3 separate regions of the Homo sapiens genome follow, and regions 1 and 3 are each linked to region 2. The links are contacts of gene promoters, found by promoter capture Hi-C in blood cells and fetal thymus (Javierre and others, 2016). All regions are on one chromosome and are shown on one strand. The core of a region is centred on a gene start or on the middle of the fragment in contact, and the rest is flanking DNA. Distances in the headings are between cores, read along the strand shown.

What was found. Contacts are between HindIII fragments. The CHiCAGO score rates a contact against its expected background, and 5 or more counts as called.
Region 1: a contact is called between a fragment that was not itself captured here and the fragment with the promoter of RAB17 in region 2, in 1 of 17 cell types (endothelial precursors). The highest score is 6.6, in endothelial precursors.
Region 3: a contact is called between a fragment that was not itself captured here and the fragment with the promoter of RAB17 in region 2, in 1 of 17 cell types (naive B cells). The highest score is 5.0, in naive B cells.

What each region holds. Positions count from the first base shown.
Region 1 is chr2:237,776,613-237,781,570 of GRCh38, reverse strand. LRRFIP1 (LRR binding FLII interacting protein 1) reads right to left here. Exons shown (of 24, transcript NM_001137550.2): 24 at 1-2,149. The coding sequence ends at 2,039. Among named protein-coding and RNA genes, the nearest start is that of RBM44, 20 kb to the left of the region's middle. The HindIII fragment of the contact is 1,833 bases long and covers 1,449-3,281 here.
Region 2 is chr2:237,589,284-237,591,983 of GRCh38, reverse strand. It overlaps RAB17 (RAB17, member RAS oncogene family), which reads left to right and starts at 1,250. Exons shown (of 6, transcript NM_022449.4): 1 at 1,250-1,517. RAB17-DT (RAB17 divergent transcript) reads right to left here and starts at 824. Exons shown (of 3, transcript NR_187201.1): 1 at 717-824; 2 at 1-112. The HindIII fragment of the contact is 11,150 bases long and covers 1-1,915 here.
Region 3 is chr2:237,759,150-237,763,947 of GRCh38, reverse strand. LRRFIP1 (LRR binding FLII interacting protein 1) reads right to left here. Exons shown (of 24, transcript NM_001137550.2): 19 at 3,743-3,884. Among named protein-coding and RNA genes, the nearest start is that of RBM44, 37 kb to the left of the region's middle. RefSeq lists a silencer at 1,307-1,519. The HindIII fragment of the contact is 2,905 bases long and covers 1-2,854 here.

The DNA of each region.
Region 1 (4,958 bases), core at 1,116-3,615, 190 kb before region 2:
AGTGTGTGTAACATTGGTTTGCTGTTTCCAAAAGAATTGGTGGGAGAGGTAGAGACTGAAGGCTTGACTTCCTCAGAGCCACTGATAGGGAAAACGCCATCTTCTCAGGGCTGTGAGACACCTGGGAATCGATGCCTTGCAGCCCTGTTCTACCAGCTGGGAGACTTCTGCCAGTTCACCTTCCTGGACCCTGGGTCCCTCATCTGTAATGTGGATTTGATAACAGCATCTACCTCATAGAATTTCCGTGCAAATGAAATGAGTGAAAATATGTGAAAATTGCATGAGTGAAAAATACCTAAAAGCGTCAGCATGCTGCCGGCCGTGTCTGCGTGATGTGTGAGTGTTTGCTGCTGGTGTTATTCACGCATGACATAGACATTTTCCCAGTTAAACATGCTTGTATTCAGATGTTGTGGAAGAAACCTTAAGGATGAGACAAGGAACTGAATATCTCCCTTTTGCCGGTGGGCCCAGCATGGTCAGCACAGGGTCCCTGAGGGGCTTCGTCCAGCTTCCTTCCTCTTTCCTGTTCATACGGTGCCCGGGTGTGCAGTGTGGGTCTCCCAGTGGTGCCCACCTGCCAGCACATTTTGCTCACCTGTCCGACCCGTGGTTTCCTACTTGCCAGTGTTGGCCCCCAGCCCCCTATAACTTGTCTGCTTCCCAATGGGCAGTGGCAAATATCCTCTGCACAAGGAGATACAAAAATCTTGTGTATTTTAATAGAGATTTCATCTCTTTCTTAATGCAACGCAGCTGTGTATATCCTAGATCCATACAGTTCTGGGGGATGGACACTGGTGACCCCTAGCATTATGCTGGGAGTGTTTTCTTGATTATATACCCTGAACTCACAACCCTCACTCCAGCATTCTCCATGTGTTAAGACTAGATATGGTTTTGGATGATACTGACTCAGTTTCCACTTGCTAACGTCCCGAAAAGCTGACTGGCTTCACCAGCCATACTTGAAATACAACATATATGAACAGTCACTAAAAATCAGCAGGTAGCTAAACGTTTTTACTTTTGTCCTTGATGATATTGCCATCGTCTCTACTGTTACCTCCTCCTTCACTTCACTTTTTAAGTGCACTCATTCTGTGAAAACACCTTTTTTTTTAAATAGGGAAAGAAAAATGAATTGACTTGATATTCTTAAAAAATAAAAAGATGACCCAAAATATACAGAACCATTAATATGAAATTAAAGATCTTCTTTCTCAGTGGAAAAAAATTAGAACCACATTGCTGAAGTCTCTCAACATTTCATTTTTAATTTTTCTAATAGTACATTCTTTAAAAGAAGTTAACGACTTCAATTCCAAATATAAGGATTAAATAATGCAATGAAAAGCTGTCATTTTCAGTGAAGCTATTGCCTAATTACCCTGGAAAAAAGTATTCTTATGACTGAACTGATGCAAAAATCCCTTAGAAAAGCTTCATTTGTTGCCTGTAAAGAGTCTTCTTAAGGTCACTTTTACTTCTAGACTGCCCCCTTGTTTCCAGTGAAAGAGTTTTGCTTGGTAATGGCTTGTGGTTCCACAGTGTTTTGTGTATGAAAAGCGTAGACTAAGAGATACTACTGAAGTCGCTCAAATTGTAGATTCTGCCATGAAAGGAAGTCCCAACACTGTAACATTTCCCCTTAATCTTCAGCAAGACACATGAAAAAAAAAAAAAACTCAAGTCCCAACTGAATCTTTACTTTGATCATCACTTCCAGCGGCATTCAGAGGCTGCTGTGCGGTCAGACACAGAGCTCCCTCGAGGCCCCTGTGTGCTTATGAAGTACCTGCAGGTTCTGAGCGTCGGCGCCAGCCCGGGCCAGGGGTCTGCAGACAGAGGCACCTGGTGGCTGCTGGGGCTCCCTGGGGTGAGCCATGGCACGGGAGCCCCTAAGCGCCAAGCTCGCCACGGTCTTCGTCTCTCGGAAGGCAGGGGAAGAAGCAGCGCTCCCAGATAGGACAGAGAAAAGCCTATGAAACAATGCTCTCCAGTCACCAACCAGTTGCCTGATCAGAGCTGGAATTTACTGCTGGGACAAGAGTGCACTCCGATTTGCTTTCATTTTTTCCAGACGCTTCACTAAGTGGCCGTTGCTCACCTCGAGCTCTTCTGTTTTATCCAATGCAGAGCGGAGCTGGGAACGGAGGAAAGGCAGTGAGCTTTAAGGAACTTGTTTCCTCCAAACATAACAGGGTTCTGTGTTACCGAAATTCCAATCCTACTGAAAAATAAAATGATAACTTGGCCCCTGGTCCCTCATGATGCCCTTCCTCCTCTGAAACAACTGGACTCCAGAGAGGGAACACCCTTGGGGATCCTGATGGTTTTCTTTTTTTTTTCTTGAGATGGAATCTCGCTCAGTCGCCCAGGCTGGAGTGCAGTGGCGTGATCTCGGCTCACTGCAAGCTCCGCCTCACGGGTTCAAGCGATTCCCCTGCCTCAGCCTCCCGGGACTACAGGTGTGCGCCACCACCCTCAGTTAATTTTTTGTATTTTAGTAGAGACGGGGTTTTGCCATGTTGGCCAGGATGGTCTCGATCTCCTGACCTCGTGATCTGTCCGCCTTGGCCTCCCAAAGTGCTGGGATTACAGGCATGAGCCACCACGCTCGGCCTCTTTTTTTGTTTGTTTTTTTTTTTGAGACAAAGTCTCGCTCTGTCACCCAGGCCAGAGTATAACGGTGTGATCTTGGCTCACTGCAACCTCCGCCTTCTGGGTTCAAACAATTCTCTTGTCTCAGCCTCCTGAGTAGCTGAGACTACAGGTGCACACCACCACACCTGGCTAATTTTTTGTATTTTATTAGAGATGGGGTTTCACCATGTTGGTCAGGCTGGTCTTGAACTCCTGACCTCAGGTGATCTACCCACCTCGGCCTCCCAAAGTGCTGGGATTACAGGCGTGAGCCACACGCCCAGTGGGGATCCTGATGGTTTCACAAAAGGTAAGTGAGGCATGAGGTAAACAAACACAAACAACAAGAGCTGAGCCTGGACTGCATGGCGAAGGTGGTCCCCACAGCCCTGGCAGCCAGAGTCCAAGGCAGGAATGCCTGAGGCCAAGACGGCCACACCTGGGAGCCAGGGCCATGGAGCCTGAGAGTCAGGCAGAAGACGAGCTGCAGAAGCCACATTAGCAGGGCATCATCTGGACCCACAGGCAGCAGGGCAGAGTGGGGTGCCCTAAGCTGGGAGAACGTGGTTTTGGAGGGGTGACAAGAACAGGGTCTATGGCTCTGCTTTCGACCCAAAACACTCAAGGAAGCTTGTTTGGGTCCTGGGACAGAAGTCCCGACCCCACCTCACTAGCAGAGGCAGAAGCAAGCCCTTTTTGCAGGAAGTTTCCACAAGTTAAGCCTGGAGTTATTCCTACAAATTAAAATCAAGCATAAGCTCACAAAACACTAAGGTGACAAACCATTTGAGTGAGAGTCAACAGAAGCAATAAATGACAGAATTAGACCCCCAAAGACTGAGCATGTTTCAGTTGTCAGATACAGAAAACCAAACAGCTGTGTATGAAATATTTAAAGAATAAGAATACAATTTAAAAAGAGGACATACATGAACATGCAGCAAGAAACTATCAACAATGAAGACACTTTTTAAAAAAAATGGTGAACTGGAAAATCTTTGCAAAAACTTTAGGCATTATCCAATAGAGAGAGGTAAGGAGATAGAAAACATGAAAGAGAGATGGTTAAAAAATGTGGAGACAATGAGAATCTCTAACATCCTCTGATTAGAGTTCCAGAGGGGAAAGTGGAGAGACTAAAAAAGAGGAATTATTTAAGGAGTTAATGGTTGAATATTTTCCAAAATCAATTTTTAAAAAGACTTCACAGATCCAAGAAACACTATATATCTCAAGCAGAAAGATTCCAATAAACTACATCTAACAGTAAAACTGTAGAAAATCAAAGACAAACAGAACCTGAAAGAAACTAGAGAAGAAAAAAAAAGGTCCCTACAAAGGACCGACCGTTAAAACAACAACTTTCTCAACAGCTCAATGGAAGCCAGCAGATGGTGGCATAATCGCTATAATCATTGAGGAAAATGACCACCACACAGAATTGCATGTCCCTGAATACTACTGTCCAAGAACAAGGATGAAACGAAAACATGTACAAACAAAAACAGGGAATTCACCACCAAGAAGTCTGCTCTAAAAGAATTTCTACAGTATGTACTTCAGTGAGGAGGAAAATGATTCTAGTACAGTCTGAGACACTAGCAGGACAGACATATAAAATGGCCAATATGTAGTTATGTCAAACAAACATGGGCAATATAAAACAACAGCAACAACAACACAACAATAGTATTATCTGATAAGTGGGATTTATGAAGCTCAAAAGTATTTATGTGTGGATGTACATGTGTACATATACATATACACATATACACATATGTGTGAGGGTGTGCATGCCAGGCAGGAGGGTGAAGCTAAAGTGCTCAAAAGTCCTTCTATTTTATAGGAGGGGAGTAAAGATAGTGTTCAACTTTAATTTTTTTTTAAGTTAAATAAAAATACCCCATGTGTGATCACTGAAAAGAATAGAAATTGAATATAAAATTTAAATTTGGCAAGAGAAAAATGACACACAAAAGACAGAACAAATGGTTATCCACAGTCAGATGGTGAAAACGAGTCCAAATATACCAATAACAATGGACTAAGGGCTCTATTAAGATCCACAGATTCCAGATTCAACTAAGAGCCACCGCCACCTAGCTATGTGCATCTGAAGGAGATCATCTAACGCATAACAACACACGGAAGACTGGAAGCCAAGGGATGCAAAAATCAGAAGTGGACAAACACTAACCAAAAGAAAGCTGATGCGGCCACGTGAATACCCGACAAGGTCAACAGCAGCAGGGACCAAAAGGGTCACTACAAAGTGATAAAAGGTTTAACTCATCAAGAAGATATCAGAA
Region 2 (2,700 bases), core at 1-2,500:
TCGAGCCACCGCGCTGGCCTCTTTTTGCATTCTTGCTATAAAATTGGTATTTGTATCTTCCTCCCATTCTGCGCTCCCCCAACCCTGCAGGAAGGTGGATTCTTCAAGGGAACTGGAGAGAAGAGAAGCACATTCATGTATTTCCACATTCAGCCTCCATCTCACGAGTTACACCATTCCCAGCACGTCACCACCCCCAGACCTTTGGTTACCAGCCTGGGGGCAGAGGATAAGGACGTCATTCAAAAATAGAGAGATTCTCAAGCCTCCAGAGTGCGGGGGCCCAGCCGAGCATGCTGGCGGCTTCCAGGGAGGTGGCCACGCCCCAGGGGAAGTGGTTGCATGGAGGAAGAATCTCAGAGGAGGCTTGGACGTGGTAGAGCAACGCTAGTCCTGTGTTAGGACTGGCTAGTCCGTCCTGCAGGGATGAGGGGCAGAGCCTCAGCAGAAGTCCAGGCCAGTGTCCCCCCTCCAGCATAAGAGCCCCCCACTCCCACAGGGCGGAGGAACCACTGTGGTGGCGGAGCTTATTTCCCAGCAGCCCCGCGGGATGAGACCCAAACGAGAAGTTAGGGTGAGTTTGGAGGACATAAAGTGAGCTGGCTTCCCGTATACTGGCTGTGTGGAGTAATGTTCACGGCAACAGATTTCCATCTCCTCAGCCTCAGGCCCAACCCTGCTACCCCAGCCATACTCAGAGGCTCTGGAAATCTTACCTGGAGGAGACTCTTCTGTTACCACCAAGCCAGGAAGTTTCATGGCTTGGGAAGACCAAGAGGAAGTCCACCTCCCCCTCTCCTGCACCTGGAGTCTCCCATGTGCACGGAGGCCACGCCCCCACCCCGCCCTCAGGTGGCATCAGCCCAGGATCTGACCCTGGACTGGCTCACACTCAGTTGCCTCTGGCCAGTGCAGGGCTCAGCCAGGGATGGCTTCTAGCTGACAGTGGGAGGAATTAATTCATCTGACCGGAATATTCTTTTCTCTTCTGGGCTGTTGGTTTTTCAAGTGCAACAAAGATTCCATACAGCTCCAAGGAAGGAGCCAAGAAAAACATTCTGTGCCAAAGTGAGATCCTGGAAGTGAAACCCCGGAATAAAGCTGAAAAACGGGCTCCAGTTGGGTGCCAGGAAATGCAGGACTGGAATGTGACTTGACTTCCGGCAGCGCGCAGGTGCTCCCGGGTCACCTGCTTTGAGGTCCAGCCTCCTGCCCTGCCTCAGGTGACCACATGACCACTGTGGACTTTGCCCTGAAACCTTCTGGGAGGAGAAGAGGCCTGACCTTGGCGCTGGGGTCCAGTGGGCATTGCTCTGGTCCGAGGCTGCTGCTCTTGACCTCTGCTCTGCGGCTGTTTTCCATTGGAGTAGAGGCTCCTCCTGTCCTGTCCTGCCTGTGGAGGGAAGCAAACCTTCCCCTGGACCAGAGAGAGGAGAAAGCGGAGACAGGTAGCAACGCTGTGGACTGGTGATGACAGGCTCTTCAGCTCCCTGCAAGTGACCGGGCCTGGGGAACAGGTGAGTCATTGTTTAAACCTCTGTGCCCTTTGTGGAGTGTCTGCCTGTGTGTGTGTGTGTCTCTGCTTCTCTGTGTGTGAGTCTCTGTGTGTCTGTGTGTGTGCTCACGTGTTTGTACCCATGTCTGTATTTGTTTGTGTCTGTGCATGTGCCCATGTGTGTATAATCAAAGGACAAAGCTGGGGCGGAGACTTCCTAGTTCAGATTTCTGATGGCTCACTAAGTCGGATTCCCAGAAGGAGATTCTTATTTGCATTTTTCTTCGGGAAAGTTCCGGTTTTAAGGTCTTGAAAAAAAAAAACACAAAAAACTTCTGGTAATGAGAAGAACTCTTAAAGAAATCCATTTCAAATGACATCAACATTCCCAATTTAATACCCAGTGATATCTAGGAAGCTTGTCAGGTTTTCTTGTAAACTCCTTTTTACAATCTACATTGTGTTTTCTGTATCAGATGGCTGTATTCTGAATGCAATGTACAGGTGTACCTCTCGTAATCTCAATATTCTTCACAGGCCCCAGGCAAGGGTGACACAGGATCACAGTTGCCGATAGACTCATCAATCAGACCCTTCCCTGGAATGGCCCCTTCCCCGCAAAAAAGACTAATGTGGGATTTGCTCTCCGTTTTTTTTCCCTTTAGTGGAAGGGAGGTGCAAGAGATTAAAAAGCCCCAAGTTAAGATTACTAGAGAAGCGCCAGTCTTGAATATGGTGTTCCTGAAAACATCTTTGTCTTCAACAACCTAATAACATCTTTCACTACTAATAACCCCATCTTGATTAAATTCTGGAGGTGGGGGTCAGGTGCCACACTTTTAATTTTCTCTTTGGACAGAAGGCTCCAACCTCTCATTATTGAAAGCTTACAACACTCAATCACACAAAAAGTTATATAAGAAAATGTTTACTGCAGTCTTATTACAGAGAAAAAATTAAAACTAAGTAAAAATCCAGTATTAGGAAAATGGTTCAGCAAGTTGAGATAGTTGTAGAAATGTTATATGTCCATTAAACATGATTTTGAAGCAATGTGTGAGACTGCCTTTGGTATTAAGTATTTCTTACCCATCGGATAATAATTTTATGTTAAAACTATGGGTTTTGGTTTGTTTTTAGGAGTCATAGAAAAAAACTAGAAGTAGGCAAAAATACCATTTGTGGTTGTATTACGGGGGTGGAGT
Region 3 (4,798 bases), core at 153-2,652, 170 kb before region 2:
TCTGCTTCACAGGCATCACTAATGTCCTGTGAGGGACTTTCATGTTCGGGCAGGGTGCAGCGATCTGCGTCTTCGCTCTTTGGTTCTGCAGGACTGCTTTGAGTGGCACCATCTATTTTAGCATTATCTTTTGCAACACCTTCATCTAATTCTTCACCACCAGCCCTCGGGCCTGATGATTGAACGGTGTCATCCTCAAAATCTAATGTGTCTCCATCAGCTAGTACCTCCTCAGCTGCTGTTTGTACATCATCACCTTCTTGGTCAAGTTTTCCATCCAACTTAATTTTAGGATTCTCCGGACAATCAACATTTTCACTGCTTTCTGCTGCAATTTTCTGTTTTGGATTTTCAGTCACCTCGTTTTGGGCTTCCACTGCTGACTTTCTGTCAGTAGACTTTACCTGCTCTTCTTCCTTAATTTCACTTAAATCTGTGTTCTGATACGTTAACTCTTTTTTAACATCTTTAAGGGTTTCTACGGGTACTGGGGATTTTTTCTTCTTGTTTTTCTTTTTCTTGTTCTTTGTCTTCTTCTGCGATGAGTCCAATGCCTCTCCCTGTTGGTCACTCTTTTCTTCATCGGGCTCTTTCATATCTAAGGGTTCATTTTGAGTGTCTACTGTACTTGGACCTGTCGCTTCCTGACAGTTGCCCTCAGTTCCTGCTGGAGAACCAGGAACTTCTGTCTTGATTGGTTTCTCGTCCCTTAATCCTGTTTCTTCACCCTCTTCTTCGTTGTGATCCCTACCTACTTCTGTACTGTGCGCTGGAACCTCCTTGGGCTCAGCTGCTTCCTGGTTGGTGAATTCTTTCTCTAAACTATGCCCTGTGCTTGTCTCTAACTCTTGGGGGACCTCTACCATACATTTGTCATCATGATAAACTGTGTCATCACTATGCCCTAAAGGACACGAGGCCACTGTGCCTGCCTGCTCTTCAACCTGAGTCACTGCTGCCTCTCCCACATTCTCTGTGTGGTTCCCACCATCTAAGTCACTCCAACAGTTGGATGGCTCAAGGGGAGTTCTGGTCCTGTCATCTGGTGCACCCATGACCTCATTTGACTCAACCTGTACTGTGTTTTCAGGGAGAGAACTGCTCTCAAGAATTTGGCTTTGAACCTGTTCCTCATAGGTAGCACCTGCTAAGGTTCCTAGGAATGGGGCAGTGTCTTCAGAGGATTTCTGGTCCTCGGTATTCTCACCAGCAGGGAATACCTCTATGTCCACACAGTCCTTCACTGTGTCCTCTGTGTGTTGTTCTTTCTCAGTATTGTGCAAGATTTCTCTTTTCCCCACATTCGCCACGATTTCATTTTTCACCTCCACTTCACTGGCTCTTCCTAAAAGACCATTGAGAAAATTGAAGGGACCCCATGATGTGGCGGCCACATAATCTACATTAGAATGTAAACACACGTTCCAAATCCCACCCACCCCTATTCCTAAAGACAGAGTCATCAAAGAGTCATGAGAAACAAGCCTTTGCCAGTTCTGTGCGGCAAAGCAGCAGTTGCATTAGTAAATTTTGGGTCAGTGAGGGCCACTGCCACCACATCAAAGGCCAGAGTGGCTGCTGGTGCCATCTTGTGTGGACAGATTTTTAAAGGTGACGTTAAGTTTCAACAAATAGAAAGAACTCTGGATCAGGCAGCCAAACAATCCACAATGATGGGTTTAGGAACAGACTGAAGGTTCAATTCCCCACTCTCACTTCTCAATGAACAACTTGACAACTTGTACTTTTGCAGCTGTCAAACTGCACTCCATGTCACACAGCCCTAAAAGCAGCTTTCAAGTAATTTTTAAAAAGAATATTCAGTGCACTTTTAGAAATGCAGCCTCAAGGTCAGTCTCAAGGAAGATGCTTTTGAAATAGCTCATATGAAAGGAAATCTATCTTCTGCCACTCAACTATTGTTTTCCTGAGAAAACACCCTGTGTCCATGCCCTGATACCTCTGCTCCATTCCCTAAGGGACTAGGGAGAGAGGACCAGCAGGAGGCAAATGTTCAAGATCAAGATGACCACTAAATTAAATGATAAATTATTCATCGTCTAAAGAACATCAAACTGTTTTGGAATTTTTGGACTCTCCAAACAAAACCCCAGCAGATTAGATATGGTACTATGTTACTGAAAGTCAAAGCTAGATAATTTTATAGCCCAGTGATCTCCATGGTGGGGTGCCCATATCCCAGGGAAAATGGGGGAAATATTAGGAATTCTATTTAGAGTTTTACTCTAAAACTTCTTTGCATATCTTTGCATATATTTTATAACGTACATTTTATATTAATGAAATAGTATACATATGTAGATTTAAAATAAACATACATATTGGATCCTACAATTCTTTGCTGAAGGAATATGTGATCAAAAGTCATTTGAAGGCCACTTTCAAAACTGACATTTCTGGTTCTTACAACATTTCACAATGGTTATCAAAGATTTATAAAATGTGTATTTGAGTAAGAGCAGCGTAATCAGATTCCTAGCTGTTCGGGTAGCTCATATAAAGGTATGATGGAAATTGATTAATTTATCTTTTCTCAACAACGGTATATAGATACTACATACCTATCTAGAGACGGAATCTTGCTAGGTTGCCAGGCTGGCCTGGAATTCCTGGTCTTAAGTGATCCTCCAGCCTTGGCCACCCGCAGCGCTGGGATTAGAAGTGTGAGCCACTGCACTAGGCCACAACTTTTTTTACACAATTGAAAAGAGCTGTGTTTCTTTAATAGTCATAAAGATAATGAATGAGGTACCTCCCTGGAATGCGAGGCCTGAGAAGATGGGGCCTGGAGGTGTCTACATTTCCATAAATAAAAAGAAATAAGATGAAAGCTTCTACATTAAAATGAAAAGTCACGGACCCTGACCTTATTCCAGCCTCTTTGTAAAACACTGGAACGCAGAGGGTGACCAGTGACAGATGAGGCCTCACTTGCACGCTGCAACTTCAGGCTGCACGCCAGAATCTGAAGGTTTCTCCCAAAGCCAACTCTTATGACAAATTATGACAAATCAGATCATTGAAAATGGTATAAAATATTCCTCTGATCTACTGGATTCCCCAGTTTTATATTCTTTCAGAAGCAAACACGTGGCATACAAAGGAGGATCCCCTCTGACAAAGGTGGGCATACTCAGACTCTCAGCACCGCCACACCCACTACCACGGCCGCCTGCCCACCTCGAGCGGTGGCTTGAAAAAGGCAACACAGACGGACCTGCTGTCCACAGGCACCCCGTACCCTCAAAGCGCTGAATGCTGCCCAGGATGTCGATGTTGGCTTGCAAATATGGCCAACTGACTTGACGGCCTCAACCATTCTGATCTTTTGATAATTCTGTCATAGAATCGGTTTAAAAAGCCACACTTTATAGGTACAGATATATATGTGTCTGAGGAAAACCAAATAGTACTCTCCACATTGTTACTTAATTTTGAGACTGTTTTCCTTTTGCCTTCACAGTCTTGCTTGGTAGCTTTGAGCAGCAAAAGAAAAGGTTCACTTGAGCCATTGATGGTGCACTACACAGAGATGCATGCCAGACAACACGTGGGTGACCACACCGGGTGGGCAAGGAAATTACCATGAAGTGATGAAACAAATGGCATGCTGGTGACTGTTAACCCATCAGCGACGGTGGCTCCAACCCCAGCAGTGCATGGAGGGTGAACCAATGCTGAGTGGAAAGGTGTGAGGAGCCGAAGGAAAGCAAATACTTACCTAGGGTCCCATCCCCTGTCGACTTGAGGGCATTTAACTCTTCTTTTGTCATCTTGGTAGGACCTTGGTATCCAACATTATTGAGGGTGTCGGAAGTCTCTCCATTGGTAGCTATTTCTGAATTTAGGATTATTCCATGTTTCTGGGAACAAAAATAGGCTCATCGTAATATTTACTCAGTGATATTAGGTTAAACTCTGTTTTAATACAATAATAAAAAAGAAAACCATTTTTTCCTGAAGTACAGGGTAACTCCACAGAGACAAGAGAAATGCTAGGGTGCAGCACTCGTAAATATTCGGTCAACACACACAAATCTGGGATATCGTCCTCCAAAGGCTACTTCTTTCTCAGATGTTCCAATCCATGCTTTCATTTGCTGGTGACAAGCTACTTCCACCAGGCATCCTTTTTAACTACAGGTAGTGGCCTGTGGGCTGCCCCCAAGTGGAGCAGTAAGCAAGTCACTGCCAAGTGACCTTTCATTTCAAAACCCTGATTGCATTCTTTAAAAAGAGAAACCAGATAAAGAAAGAAATATATACATGTTCTGAAAGAGACACACGAAACTTATGTTAAAGAAGGAATTCAGAGGTGGCTAGAATGTTCAGTATATTCAAAAGAAACAGAATTCACTGAAAACAGCAGCACTTCCCAACTGCAGACATCACTCACCCATGCCCTCCTGCCGCCTGTGGCTCTCTCTCCCTTGTGTGTGAGGAACTCCCCTGAACTGATCGCCTCTTCAAGGAGCAGAATTACGAATCTTAGCTCTAAGCCTGTAGCTGGCTGGCTCACTGCTCTGGCTTTGACCCTGGAGGCCAAGCAGCAGATGGTGACGGTTCAGGAACCCCCCCACCCAGAGTGCTGCCACTGGCGCTTCACCTGTGTCAAGCAGCGGCTGAAGACGCCTTGGCGTGGCCCACCAAGGACAGGGAACCGTCTTCCACCTGTAATCTAGTAGGTCTCAAAGTCTAATTAGCGGGATCCTTGCCCAAACCACTTACCCAAGTCACTGTTCCTCTAGAGAAGTCCTTAAATTGGGGGTTTTAATAT